Linked DNA regions of Homo sapiens: region 2 is linked to region 1. The links are contacts of gene promoters, found by promoter capture Hi-C in blood cells and fetal thymus (Javierre and others, 2016). All regions are on one chromosome and are shown on one strand. Each heading gives the region's core, a stretch centred on a gene start or on the middle of the fragment in contact. The rest is flanking DNA. Distances are from core to core; before and after follow the strand shown.

Region 1 (6,840 bases), core at 1,763-4,262:
GGGAGTCAGAGAGGAGGCAAAGAGTCAGAGAGAGGAGGCAAGGTGACAGATAGAGGAGGCAAGGAGTCAGAAATAAGAGACAGGGAATCAGGGTGGGGAAAAAGAGAAAAAAAATCCTCTGTGGTTTTTATCTCTGAGAGAAGACTGATTCTTCACATGGCCTGAGCCACGTGGGGCTGTGTGAGACATCTGGACACCTGGACGCCAGGGGACAGTGCCTCTGTGGGCTCCGCCTCCTGCCTCCACATCTTTCTTCCCTCTCTTCCCCCAGAGGTGGCACCATGGGCACCCTCGTAGGCACATCTCTCCTCTGCAGCCTGTTCTCCCTTCTCCATCCTCAGCCAGGCTGACCTCATACAGCGAGGAGCAGACAGGGATGAGTTTGAAGAGCCCTTTGGGAATTTAGAGTCCAATATCAGTGACTGAATGGATTTCAGGAAGTCAGAGAGAGGAGGCAGGGAATCAGAGAGGGGAAGTAAGGAATCAGAGAGAGGAGGCTCAGAGAGGCAGGAAATTCAACGGAGACCCCCTAGCGGCACAGGTATCTGAATGCACATACTGTGACTACTGACCCCATCACAGGGCCATTCTGAGGACAGGTGGAAGCCAGAAAGTTCCCAGAGCAGAGATGAGGGGACGCCATCCTGGGGGCACAGTAACCACAGCCAGGAAGGCATCCATCAGCCCACTTGACTGATGGGGACACTGATGCTCAGAGAGGTTAAGTCACTTGCCCCAGTTCACACAGCAGATGACTAGCTGGGCTGGGATCAGAACCAGGCTGTTTGGCTTCAAAGTCTGGGCTCTTAACTCTATGAAAACCCACCCCCAGCCAAAACTGGTCTTTTCCAAAACACTGTCTGTCTCAGTGAAGCCTCAGCTGGCATCAGGCGGGGGGATGACGCCGAGACATACTATATTCTCACTCCCTCTCTCCCTGCAGGCAGCGGAGCGGAAAGGGGGCAGGCACCTCCCAGGATTCTCCCCTAACCCTGCCAGCCACCTCTGAGCAAGTGCACCTGTGGATTCACCACTTCTCCCTTGAGCCTCTCTCCCAGGGCCTGCCTGAAAGATGAAGGGGTCACACGGGCACAGGCAGCAGGACAAGAGTCTGGACGTGTCCTCCCGGTGTATGCCCCAGAGCCTGTTTCACTGCACTGCCCCTCCTCCACACCCCCATGCCTCCTCCATCAGTGCACACTCAGCCTCTTTGGACACGCACATTGCCATCACTGGCTTCCAGCTGCCACTCTGAGAGTCCGGGAGCTTGGCAAAGCCAACCCCACCACCCTTGGCAGCTCAGGTGGTAGAAGGTAGGCAGGCATCCACTTCTGGCAGGCCAACTCTGCCTCTCACCAGCCCGGCAGCCCTGGGCAAATGACTTGGCTTCCTGGGGCTCAGGTTATTCCTCTGTTAATGGTAAGACATAAACCCCCTGTGTGGCCCTGGGTTTCCAATAAGTCTGGAGGCTGACCCAGCTCTTGACCCGCAGCAAACCTGAACACATGCTGGGTTCTTTTCTTCGTGGCACTTTATCTTGGCAGTCGTGGGGCTGCCTAGAGCAGCCTGGTGAGGCTGGACTGGAATGCAGGCGCAGGTCTTGCAGGGACCCCATCTTGTCTCTGACACCACAGGAGGCTTGATTCACTGGCTCCTGACCTGGCTGCTCCCTCCCAGCCTGGCTTCCCACCTTCCATGAGGTCTTGGACAACATCCCCTGTCATCCTCCTGGTGCTGGGGACAAGGGGAGGGGAGGGCACAGAGAGGCCTCCAGAGCTGCCTTCCGGGCCCTCCAAGACAGCTAAGTTACAGGAAACCCCTCCTGGGAAGGGAATCATCCAGGAAACTCACTCTGCACCAACCCAGAAAAAGCTCAAGAACTCTGGATAACGAAGGAGCTTCTTAATCTTCCTTCCCCACCTCCAGGTAATGCAGGCTGCAGCCAGCTCCAGAAGAGGGACAGGAGTGTTTGTGGTAGTTGACTCGTCTTCCCTGAGCCCCCGTTTCCTCCTATTTAAATGGGCTATTACTCTAGCTCTTTAAATGCAAAGCCTGTGGCACCAAAACTAGCACATAGTAGAAGCTCAATAAATCTTTCTTTCCTGGGATTAAGTCAAGGGTATAGCACTCAGTTTGACACATACAGTAGGTGCTCAACGAATTTAATTCTCTCTAGGTATGCAAAGTTGCCAGACGATCCCGGCACATAGTAGGTGCTCAATCAATTTCACTTTCTCTGGTCATCTAAGGAATCACTGAGCTTTCCTCCTCCAAGCCTCTACCCTTTCTTCCCGGCTGCTCCACTTCCCCCAGATGCCCAGCTCTGTTGGGGCGTCTCCTACCTGGGAATGGCGGGCCGGGCCTCTGGCACGGCTCAGAGAGCTGCCTGGAAGCGCCGGGAGCTGCGGGGAGCTGCCTGCTGCTCCAGCCGCCGAGCCTCCCAGAGTCTGTGGTGGCTCCCGGGTCACTGCGCGGGGATCCTCCCCTGCGCTGCTCGGGACGCCGGGCTGGGCGCGGCCGGGCAAGGAGGCGCAAGGGGCAGGTGCCCCATGGGTGGGCTCCGAGGGCTCGGCGGGGCCCGGGCAGGGGGCGGGCTCCGGCTCGCCGCCGCCGGCCCTGCCCTGCCCCGAGCCGGGGGCCTCCTGCTGAGCCAGGTGCCCGGAGGCTTGGGGACGTCCGATCCGGGGGTCCCCGCCTGGGGCTCTCGGGCTGGGGGCAGAGAGGTAGGGGCGACTCCAGTGATGAAGGAGCAGCTCCTAGAGACTTGGGGAGGGGGGGTCCTTTGGAGGTGACTGTGGGTGCGTGTCCCAGGTGGGCGAACCCTCCTGGTCGCCTATGCCACCTTCTCCGCCTGCCCCAAAGGGGGTCGCTCGGATGGGGGGTATCGGGCTGCCGGGCTCGGCCGCGGCCTCCTTCTCTGCCCGCGGCTCTGCAGCTCTCCCAGCGCCGGAGGGACGGCTTCTTTCTCCCCGCGCGGCGACGCCAGCAGCTGAAGGAGGAGCAGGGCGCTCTGCTCTGCGCGCGTGTGGGAGGGGGCCTTGAACGCCGCCCCAAGGTTTCGCAGCTCCAAGTTAGCATCAACCCGGCTCCTCCTCCTTCACCTCCTCCTGTCCCCAGATGAGGAGAACTTTGTGTGTGGCCCTGGGTTCTCCCTCCTTCCCCCTCTCGCAGGCAGATGCCCCACTGTCACCCGCAGGGCGAAGAGGTCGCTGATCCCTCCGAAAGGTGGCAGAACCCCAGGCTCCTGATGACGGTCCCAGCGGCACCCTCCCGCGCCCCTGCGAGCGTCGCCCACCTGCTCCTTCGGCCCCCCGCGAGCCGCGCCTCCCGCCGCCCAGCGCCAGCGTCTGCCCCCCAGAGCCCGCTCGCCCCGCCCCACCCCGGCGCCCCGCCTCGCCCCGGCGCCCGGCCAATGGGAGGCGGGTCCCGCGGCCCGGCCCCGCCCATCCCTTTCGCGGCCTCCGGGGCGCCGCGGTCTGCGGTTCCGCGTGTCCGGGCGCGTGGGGCCGGGGCCGCTGGGCGCGCGCACCTTGCCCAGAAGGCGGCCCGGGCCTCGGAGGCTGACGTCTGCGCACGCGCTCACACGCACGCCCGGCCTGGCCGCAGGTGACCCGCATGGGGTCCGGCCGCCTGCCCACTCGGCCGGGGTCTCCAGCGGCTTGCGCCCGGCCAGGTCGAGCGCGCCACGGTTCCAGCGCCCTCCTCCTTCGCGGAAGTCCCCGGGTGCCCTCCCAGGTGTCCAACCTGCCTGTCCCAGCCGCCGCCTCCCTCCCGAGCTCACGGTGCCCACGGGACCCTGCGGACTGGCACATGGGCCATGCACGTGTCGCCCAGAGGGGCGGGGAGTCACCTAGGCTTAGTAGCCAGAGGTCTTCGAGGCATGCGAGTCTCAGAGACCACGGCCGACGGGGACACACCAGGTGCCTTGAGCATTGCGTCTCCTGCCTGCATTCTCCCTCCCCACCTTTAAATGAGGGGCTTGACCTAGGCCAGACATCGGGCCTTCTCACTGGGCCATATCTCCACACCACTTATTACTTAATATATTTTTTAAAATATCAGATCCACTTTCCCCACCCCTTAAACACGTTTTTTTAGAGAATCATTATATCACTGCCTTAAATGGGAAATCAGTATCACTTGCCATAAATAGAAAGTAAGAGTTAAAATAAGCACAGTGAAAACAAAGCAAGGTTATTAAATTCCAGCTGGAAACCGTGGCCTGCCAAGGCTTGAGATGTGTGCCCTCAGTGAAAAAGGGAGATTGGCAAGGTTTGGAGAGGTGTTAAATACCCATTAGCACCTAACAGAGACTTTCTCCTTCACATATCAGGAGGCTTAAAAGAGAATGTTCTCGTTGTGTGATACAGCAAAGGGATGGGATGCTGTGTCTGTGTCCCTCAGTTCCAGATCCCTGGACCTCAGGGATGTCTGCCAGCCTCACCCCCAACCCAGATCTGGCCTCCCTACCTCATGAGAGGACGCAGGGGTCTGGGAGGGCACCTGAGGGGTCAGCTCCATTGGCTGAGAGACTGGCGTTCAAGTCCTGTCTCCGTAACTACCTAGATATCTGACCCTGGGCCGTCATGAAAAGTCTCTGGGTCCTGGTTGTGCCATCTCTAAAATGGGTATGATATTGATGGGTCCACAGAATGACAGAAGTACTAAAATGGCCTGGGACTTTGAATATGGAAAGTGACTTGCTTTGCTTGTCTCTGTAACATCTTGAGATTCTCCAGGAAAGTTAACCAGAGAGGATGGGGCAGGTGGGGGTGGAGGGTGCAGTACCTGTACTACCTGATTGTGTTTAATGCCCCAATTTAGGCCACAGAGGGGCTAAGGGGATGTGCCCAAAGTCACCTGGTGGCAAGTGGCAGGATTGCAGCCTGGTGCATTTTCCACATCCAGACTTTGCCTCTGGGAACTGGCTTCAGCCCGGGAGGGTTTGTGCTGGGCATGACACACACAGGCTGTGAGCCTTGAGCTGGCAGTGAACTTGGCAGTGGGAGGTGAGCAGGGTGGCACGCTTCACCTGGAAGGCTGGGGTCAGGAAGACTCAGGTCGCTGGGCCAGCTCTGCCACCTCCATCACGGAAATGTAGCAGACGGCCCAAGAACCAATTGCTCCCTGCTTCTGCAGAGTTGTTCAACAGAATGGGTCATGTCCCACTGACCATATCCCAGTCGCGAGGGGAGCTGCATGTGGAGTGAGAACCCTGGGAGGTCCACTTGCCCCAGCCTCTGTCTTCTGCTCCTGCCCTCCCCCACTCCTGGTATGGTAGGGCTCAGTCAATAAGCAAATACACATAAGGGATCAACTGATGCCCAAGGAAGCTTTGTGTAGCAACAGCACACTTCTCACATGTGCCTATTTTCCCCTTCCCCCCTCCCCACCCACTTGCTTTATCATCCCTCATCAGACCCTTTGTCATAGCTGCCCCCTTCGTCCCTGGGCTCCCTGTCACCCTCTCTCTCCCATATAACCTGTGACCATTTTAGCCCTGTTCTAAAACTGCCACCTCCTGCTCAAGAGTTTTCAAGGGCTCCCCATTGCTTAAGATATAAAATCTTGGGCTGGGTGTGGTGGCTCACGCCTATAATCCCAGCACTTTGGGAGGCCAAGATGGGAGGATCACTTGAGGCCAATAGTTTGAGACCAGCCTGGCCAACATAGCAAAACCCTACTACTAAAAATATAAAATATAATAATTTTATACTAAAAATATAAAAACTACCCAGGCGTGGTGGTGTGCGCCTATAATTCCAGCTACTCGGGAGGCTGGGACATGAGAATTGCTTGTATCCAGGAGGCAGAGGTTGCAGTGAGCCGAGATCGTGTCACTGTGCTCTAGCCTGGGCGACGGAGCAAGACTCTGTCTCAAAAAAAAAAAAAAGATATAAAGTCTAAAAATCTAAATTCCTTATCCTAGCGAACAAGGCCTCCAACCAGGACGTGATTCCCACCATGCCCTGCACTCAACCTCCATTCCAGCAAAATCAAATCACTTCCGGGTCTCTAAAGAAGAGAAGCTATCCCTCCTCTGAGCTTGTGTATGCTGGTTTCTTATCAGGGATACCCTTTTCTCTGTATTTACCCATCAAACTCCTACACATTCTTCAAAGCACTGTGTCCACACTTCTCCCCACAAAACTTACTCCCAGCCTTTCTAATGGTGTGAATCTCCTCCTCTGGGCTCCCACAGCACCAAAGCCTGGCTCTTGTGCTGTGGGTAACTGGTCCTCTCTTTAAGCCTCAGTTTCTTGGCCTGTAAAAGTGGGTGTTACAATAGTAGCTGCCTCGTGGAGTTGTTGGGAGGATTAAAATAAACTGCGAAGTGCTTCACACATAATGGCCTTCACCATGATTACTTCCTCCGTAGCCGGTGTTACTTCCTGCTTCATATTTTGGACACATGCCTCGTCACCCCCATTAGCATGTGAGCTCTTTTGAGTGGGGACCGAGCCTGATTCATCCTTTTATTCTCACATCATTAAGGGCAGCATCTCACACATTATAAGTTTTTAATAAATGCTTATTGAATTGTGTTCAGCCAAACAGTCTCAGAGCAGAAGAAACGTACAAGCTCTCCTTGGACACAGGGAAGGGTGGACAGACACAGTGAAGCAGAGTTTCACTTAGTCCTCCTAACAGCCCCACTTACAGAAGGGGAAACTGAGGTTCAGGGAGACTGTTCAAAACCAGGCAGCTAATGAGAGGCTGAGCTGGGGTCCAAGAGAAATTATTCCAATAGGAAAAAAAGCACACGTCAGGCTGCTTTTCTAGAACAGCAGTTCCTAATGCTGGCGGCGCATTAGAATCACCTAGGGGAGCTTTTAAAAG
Region 2 (6,840 bases), core at 1,671-4,170, 560 kb before region 1:
CTGTATGATCTTGTCTTCCTGGGCACACTGAACAACTTCTATCAAACTCCTTTCCATTTCCTTAAATGCTAGTGCAGTTTCTATAGAGCTTGGAGCTTTTCTTTAATGGTTTTGCTTTTATTGACTTGAGGGAAGTTTGTTGCATGACTGGGGCCAGTGATGATGAAAAGAAAAAGTGTGGGAATACAGTATAGAAGCTGTCTTTTGGGATGAGGGGGCCTTCCATTATTCCTGGGTTCCACCAGCTGCCTAGGACGCTGTCCCATATTTTCCTGTATGTTGCTTTTCCCACCCAAGTCCAAGACACACTGCTCTGGTCTGGGGCCAATTGCCATTGCTGCTTCCTGCTTGGCAAAATAATGGATAAAGGAAAGGGTCAACCTGTCTTGGTCTCAATGCCAGTTCTCAACCACCCTCATGAAAACTTCAAAGCCTCATCTTGCTCCTCAGTTTCATTGTTTCTCTAAGTTGGGAAACTCCCAGAAAAATTCCTGTTATTCACAGCTGCCCCCTTCTGCACATGTTTTGGGCTTTTTTTTTTTTTTTTTTTTTTTACTCTAACAAATTGATTCTTCAACAAATTGAGGCTTTCTGTCCTTCCGAGATTCTTCAACATTAATGGTCCATGAACACCTTCAGTGTTCCAGCCCTATTATGAGTCTATATTTTTAAATATTTCTTTTCTGTCATTGCTAGGGACTGGAAATGAAAGTAGTAGTAAAAGCATGTGCTCAGCCAACCATGTCCATCCAACCCCCAAGAAAGATAACTTAAAGAAGTGTTGCTGAGTGTTACAAATTTAACCCCCATCACAACTGCCCACCCTGACATTCTAGCAAGAACCCACAGGAAAGATCTGGATGTGAGGTTTGTATTTTCTTAGAATGTGTCGATGAGATGCATTGTAGCAGGTCATATTTACCAATAATGGCTACCACAATATCTACCATTTAATCTATGTCTTCTTCTCTGCTTGAGCCAGGGAAGTTATTCATGACTGCCTCATGGCAGAAGAAAAACTGTGACTTCTGAGGTTTCTGACTTCTGGGTTATAAAAATGCCATGTATTTCCACCTTGCTCTCTTGGGACACTCACAGAGCCACCATGCTCCGAAGAAGCCCAAATTCACCCATGTGAAGAGATATATGGAGAGGCCATATGCAGCCCAGATGACCTCCCAGCTGAGAGGCGATGTTGGCCAGGCGCAGTGGCTCATGTCTGTAATCCCGGTACTTTGGGAGGTTGAGATGGGCGGATCACCTGAGGTCAGGAGTTCGAGACCAGCCTGGCCAACATGGGAAACCCCGTCTCTACCAAAAACACAAAAATTAGCTGGGCATGGTGGCACATGCCTATAATCCCAGCTACTCAGGATTCTAGTTCTTTAGGGACAGGTGACATGGCATAGTGAAAATAGAGATGGAAATCTAGTTCTGACATCAGAAAGATCTGAGTTCTAATCCCACCTCTACCACTTACTAGCTGTATGATCTTGGGCAAGTTGGTTCATCAACAGAATTGTTGAGAAGATTAAATGGGATAATGTGTGTTACCCCATCCCTCCAAAAAGCACAGATTACCAACAATCATAGGCAGTCAACAAATATTTATTCAACATGGTTGTGACCATCTAGTGCTGTTTTAAACTCCACCCTAAAACTCAGTGGCTTGAAATAATAATAGCCATTTATTTTATTTCTGAAATTACAATTTTGTCAGGGCTCCACGGGGCAGCACATCTCTGCTCTGTGCAGTGTCAGCTGGGGTGGCCTAACTGGGACCGGAATACCCACTTTTAGGATGGTTTACTCACATGACTGGTGAGTTGAGGTACGCTGTTGGCTGGGACTATCTACTAGGCACCTCAGTTCCTCTCCATGTGGACTTCTCCTCAAAGATACTTGAGTTTCCTTCTGGCAAGGAAGCTTAGTTTCAAGATTGAATGTTCCAAGAAACCAAAAATGGAAACAGATGGTCTCTTAAGACTTGAACCTTGAAACCAATACAGCATCACTTATGCTGTATTCCAGTAACCAAAGCAGTCACAAGGCCCATCCGTATTAGTTCATTCTGACACTGCTAATAAAGACATACTTGGCCCCGGATGGTGGCTCACACCTATAATCCCTGCACTTTGGGAGGGCAAAGTGGATGGATCACCTGAGGTCAGGAGTTCCAGACCAGCCTGGCCAACATGGTGAAACCCCATCTCTACTAAAAATACAAAAAAGTAGCCAGGCATGGTGGTGGGTGCCTGTAATCCCAGCTACTCGGGAGGCTGAGGCAGGAGGATCTCTTGAACCCAGCAGGCGGAGGTTGCAGTGAGCCAAGATCATGCCACTGTACTCCAGACTGGGAGACAGAGCGAGACTCTGTCTCAAAAAAAAAAAAAAAAAAAAAGACATACTCAAGACTGGGTAATTTATAAAGAAAAAGAAGTTTAGGCTGGGCACGGTGGCTCACGACTGTAATCCCAGCACTTTGGGAGGTCAAGGCAGGCGGATCACAAGGTCAGGAGATCAAGACCATCCTGGCTAACACGGTGAAACACTGTCTCTAAAAAATTAGCTGGGTGTGGTGGCACACACCTGTAGTCCCAGCCACTTGGGAGGCTGAGGCAGGAGAATTGCTTGAACCTGGGAGGCAGAGGTTGCAGTGAGCTGAGATCACTCCACTGCACTCCAGCCTCGGCGACAGAGCGAGATTCCATCTCAAAAAAAAAAAAAAAGAGGTTTAATGGCCTCACAGTTCCACATAGCTGCAGAGGCCTCACAATCATGGCAGAAGGCGAAGGAGGAGCAAAGGCACATCTTACATGGCAGCAGGCAAGACAGCATGTGCAGCAGGGGAACTGCCCTTTATAAAACCACCAGATCTCATGAGACTTATTCACTGTCATGAGAACAGCATGAGAAAAACCCACCCCCATGATTCAATTACCTCCCACTGGGTCCTTCCCACAAGGGGATTATGGGAACCACAATTCAAGATGAGATTTGGAGGGGACACAGCCAAACCAGATCACCATCCAATCTAAAGGGAAGGAAAATAGACCCTACCTCTCAAAAGAAAGAGTGTAAAATAATTTGTGTTCCTGTTTAATAACCCACAGACATCTTCTAGGTATCAGATATTCTTGTAGACTCTGCAGTATAATGTGGTCCAAGGCCGATATGGTGCCCTCTCGCATGGAACTTATATCCATACTATTATTTGTCTTGTTAATGCATGCATCTCGTGCCGCCAAGTAGACTGAAAATACCTTCCAGAGCAAGCCTTTTTCTTATTTATCTTTCTATCCTTGACATTCGACACAGTGACTGGCATGTAGTTAATGGACAGGAAAGGTTGCTGAATTAAATTACACTCTGTGGAATAAAATCATGAGAAAGCACTTTATAAATTGCAAAGCACAATTCAAACATAAGATCTGTAGTTATTCATCGGAACTTTTAATGATTTTTTTTGTACCAGCCACTATCCTAGACCCTGTTAATACAGAGATAATAAGACAGAGGTCCTGCCTTCAAGCCACGTTTGCATTACCCATTTCCTTGAAAGGAAATTAAGTCAATGACAGCTAAGTGGTTTAATGTATTAAAAATGTACAGCTGGACGTGCCCAGCCTGCTAAGGCAGAGTTCTAGAGTGCCTGCTGGAACATTGAAGTCACACCCTCCATACACAATAGACAGCCCTTCAACAAATGATAGGAGACTTACTGGCTTGTAGCATTTAAGGAAATCTATGTAATCATTAGCTGACCACGTCTAGTAGCTAGGTTAACTACCTAGCAGAAACTTCAGGGGCCGTATATCACAAAGAATACAGATCTTACAGAATTCGTCCCGGGAAGCCACTAAACAAACAGCAACAACAACAACAGACAGCAATCACAATAACAACAAAGCTTAGGAAGGGGGCAATCTGGTTTCCAGTGTTGTCCCATTATATTATATTAAATGTCCCGTTTCCAACAAAAATGCATGAACAAATAAGAAAGTATAGCTCATACCTGGAAGGACAAGAGGCTTCCTGAAGAAGCCCAGATGTTAGAGTCACTGTCAGTTTTAAATCAGATATTATAAAAACATTCAAAGAACTAAAGAAAACAAGGGGCCGGGCGTGGTGGCTCATGCCTGTGATCCCGGCACTTTGGGAGGCCGAGGCAGGCAGATCACCTGAGGTCGGGAGTTCGAGACCAGTATGATCTACATGGAGAAATCTCTCTCTACTAAAAATACAAAAATTAGCCGGGTGTGGTAGCGCATGCCTGTAATCCCAGCTACTTGAGAGGCTGAGACAGGAGAATCGCTTGAACCCAGGAGGTGGAGTTGGCAGTGAGCTGAGATCATACGACTGAACTCCAGCCTGGGAGACAGAGCAAGACTCCGTCTCAAAAAAAAGAAATATTAAAGGAAGTCCTTGGTGCTGAAATAAAAGGACTCAAAACAGAAACACAAGACACAATTCACTTGAAGAAACTAAGAAAACTAGTACAAGTAACTACATAGGTAAATACAGAAGAAAGACAGTACATAGGTCTTTTGTTTGTAATTCTTTTCTCCTATTATCTGACTTAAAAGACATTTTCCTAAAACAATAATTATAAAACTGTATTGATAGTCTTACAATACATAAAAATGTAATTTGTATAATACCAACACAAAGGAAGAGATAAAAAACAACCACAGTGGAACAAACATTTATATATACTATTAAAATTAAGTTAGTACTTATCTCAACTAGATAGCTTTACATTAAGATGTTAATTATAATCCTCGAAGCAACCATTAAAAAGTGATCTTGGCTGGCACAATGGCTCACACCTGTAATCCCAGCACTTTGGGAAACTAAGACAGGCAGATCACTTGAGCCAGGAATTCCAGACCAGCCTGGGCAACATGGCAAAACCCTGTTGTTACAAAAAAATACAAAAAATTAGCCAGGTTTGATGGTGCACAGCTGTGGTCCCAGCTAGTCTGGAGGCTGAGGTGGGAGGATTGCTTGAGCCCAGGAGGTTGCAGTAAGCCGGAGATCATGCCACTGCACTCCAGCCTGGGTGACATAGTGAGATCCTATCTCAAAAAAAAAAAAAAAAAAAAAAAAGGCAGGCTGGGCACAGAGGCTCATGTCTATAATCCCAGCACTTTGGGAGGCTGAGGCAGGAGGATCACCTGAGGTCAGCAGTTCAAGACCAGCCTGGCCAACATGGAGAAATCCCGTCTCTACTAAAAATACAAAATTAGCCGGGCGTGGTGGTGGGCGCGTGTGGGCCCAGCTACTCCAGAGGCTGAGGCAGGAGAATCACTTGAACCTGGAAGGCGGAGTTTGCAGTGAGCCGAGATGATGCCACTGCACTCTGGCCTGGGTGACAGAGCAAGACTCGGTCTTAAAAAAAAAGAAAAGAATGAAAAGAAAATAAAAAGGATACATATATTATATTTGAGATGGAGTTTCACTCTTGTTGCCCAGGATGGAGTGCAATGGTGCGATCTCAGCTCACCGCAACCTCCGCCTCCCGGGTTCAAGTGATTCTCCTGCCTCAGCCCCCAGAGTAGCTAGGATTACAGACATGCGTCACCACACCCGGCTAATTTTGTATTTTTAGTAGAGACGGAGTTTCTCCACGTTGGTCAGGCTGGTCTTGACCTCCCGACCTCAGGTGATCCGCCCACCTCGGTCTCTCAAAATGCTGGGATTACAGGAGTGAGCTACCACGCCCGGTGAAAAGGATCTTAAATATTGCGTGCACGCACACACACACACACCCACACACACACACAAAGGGAATTAAAAATAGTATGCTAGTAAATGGACAATAAACACATGGAAAGGTGCTCCACGTCATTAGTCACTAGGGAAATGTACATCCAAACTGAAATGAGGTAATACTTCACACCCATTAGAAAAAAAAAAAAGACAATATTGGCAAGGATGTGGAGACATTGTAATCTTCTTACATTGTTGGTGTGAATGCAAAATGATACATCCATTTTAGAAAGGAGTTTGGCAGTTCCTCCAAATGTTGAATAGAGTTACCATATGACTTAGCCATTTCATGCCCAGGTATAAACTAGTGAGAAATCAAACCATATATCCACACAAAAACTTGAACTTGAATTTTGAAAGCACCATTATTTGTAATAGCCAAAGAAGTGGAAACAACCCAAATGCCCGCCAATTGATAAATGGATAATCAAAATGTTTATATCTATACAATAGAATATTATTCAACCTACAAAAGGAATGAAATTCTGATACATGATATATTATCACGGATGAACCCTGAAGGCATCATGCTAAGTGAAAGAAACAGATAGAAAAGGAAACATACACAATATTTGTTGTATGATTCTACTTACATGCGGTATACTGGAATAGCCAAATACCTAGAGACAGAAAGCAGAGTAGTGGGCTGGGTGCAGTGGCTGCCGAGGCAGGTGGAAAGCCTGTAATCCAAGGACTTTGGGAGTTCGAGGCAGGTGGAGGGCTTGAGGTCAGGAATTCGAGACCCACCTGATCAACATGGTGAAACCCTGTCTCTACTAAAAACACAAAAATTAGCCGGCGTGGGGGCAGGTGCCTATAATCCCAGCTACTCAGGAGGCTGAGACAGGAGAGTTGCTTGAACCTGGGAGGTGGAGGTTGTAGTGAGCTGAGATCACGCCACTGCACTCCAGCCTGGGCAACAAGGCAAGACTTTGTCTCAAAAAATAAATAAATAAAAGGAAAGAAGAAAAGAAAGTGGAATAGGGGTTACCAGGGGTTGAGGGAGGGAGGACTGGGGAATTATTGTTTAATGAGCATAGTGTTCCAGAATGGAATGATGAAAAAGTT

What was found. The method cuts DNA at HindIII sites, captures the fragments that hold promoters and counts their contacts. A CHiCAGO score of 5 or more calls a contact.
Region 2: a fragment that was not itself captured here is called in contact with the fragment with the promoter of RASD2 in region 1 in 7 of 17 cell types (M2 macrophages, naive CD4 T cells, M1 macrophages and 4 more); the score reaches 7.4 in M2 macrophages.

What each region holds. Positions count from the first base shown.
Region 1 is chr22:35,537,003-35,543,842 of GRCh38, reverse strand. It overlaps RASD2 (RASD family member 2), which reads right to left and starts at 3,012. Exons shown (of 3, transcript NM_014310.4): 1 at 2,343-3,012. RefSeq lists enhancers at 2,662-3,224, 3,225-3,787, 3,788-4,350 and a silencer at 3,321-3,540. The HindIII fragment of the contact is 7,504 bases long and covers 1-5,335 here.
Region 2 is chr22:36,097,092-36,103,931 of GRCh38, reverse strand. No RefSeq gene overlaps it. Among named protein-coding and RNA genes, the nearest start is that of APOL3, 60 kb to the left of the region's middle. The HindIII fragment of the contact is 1,984 bases long and covers 1,929-3,912 here.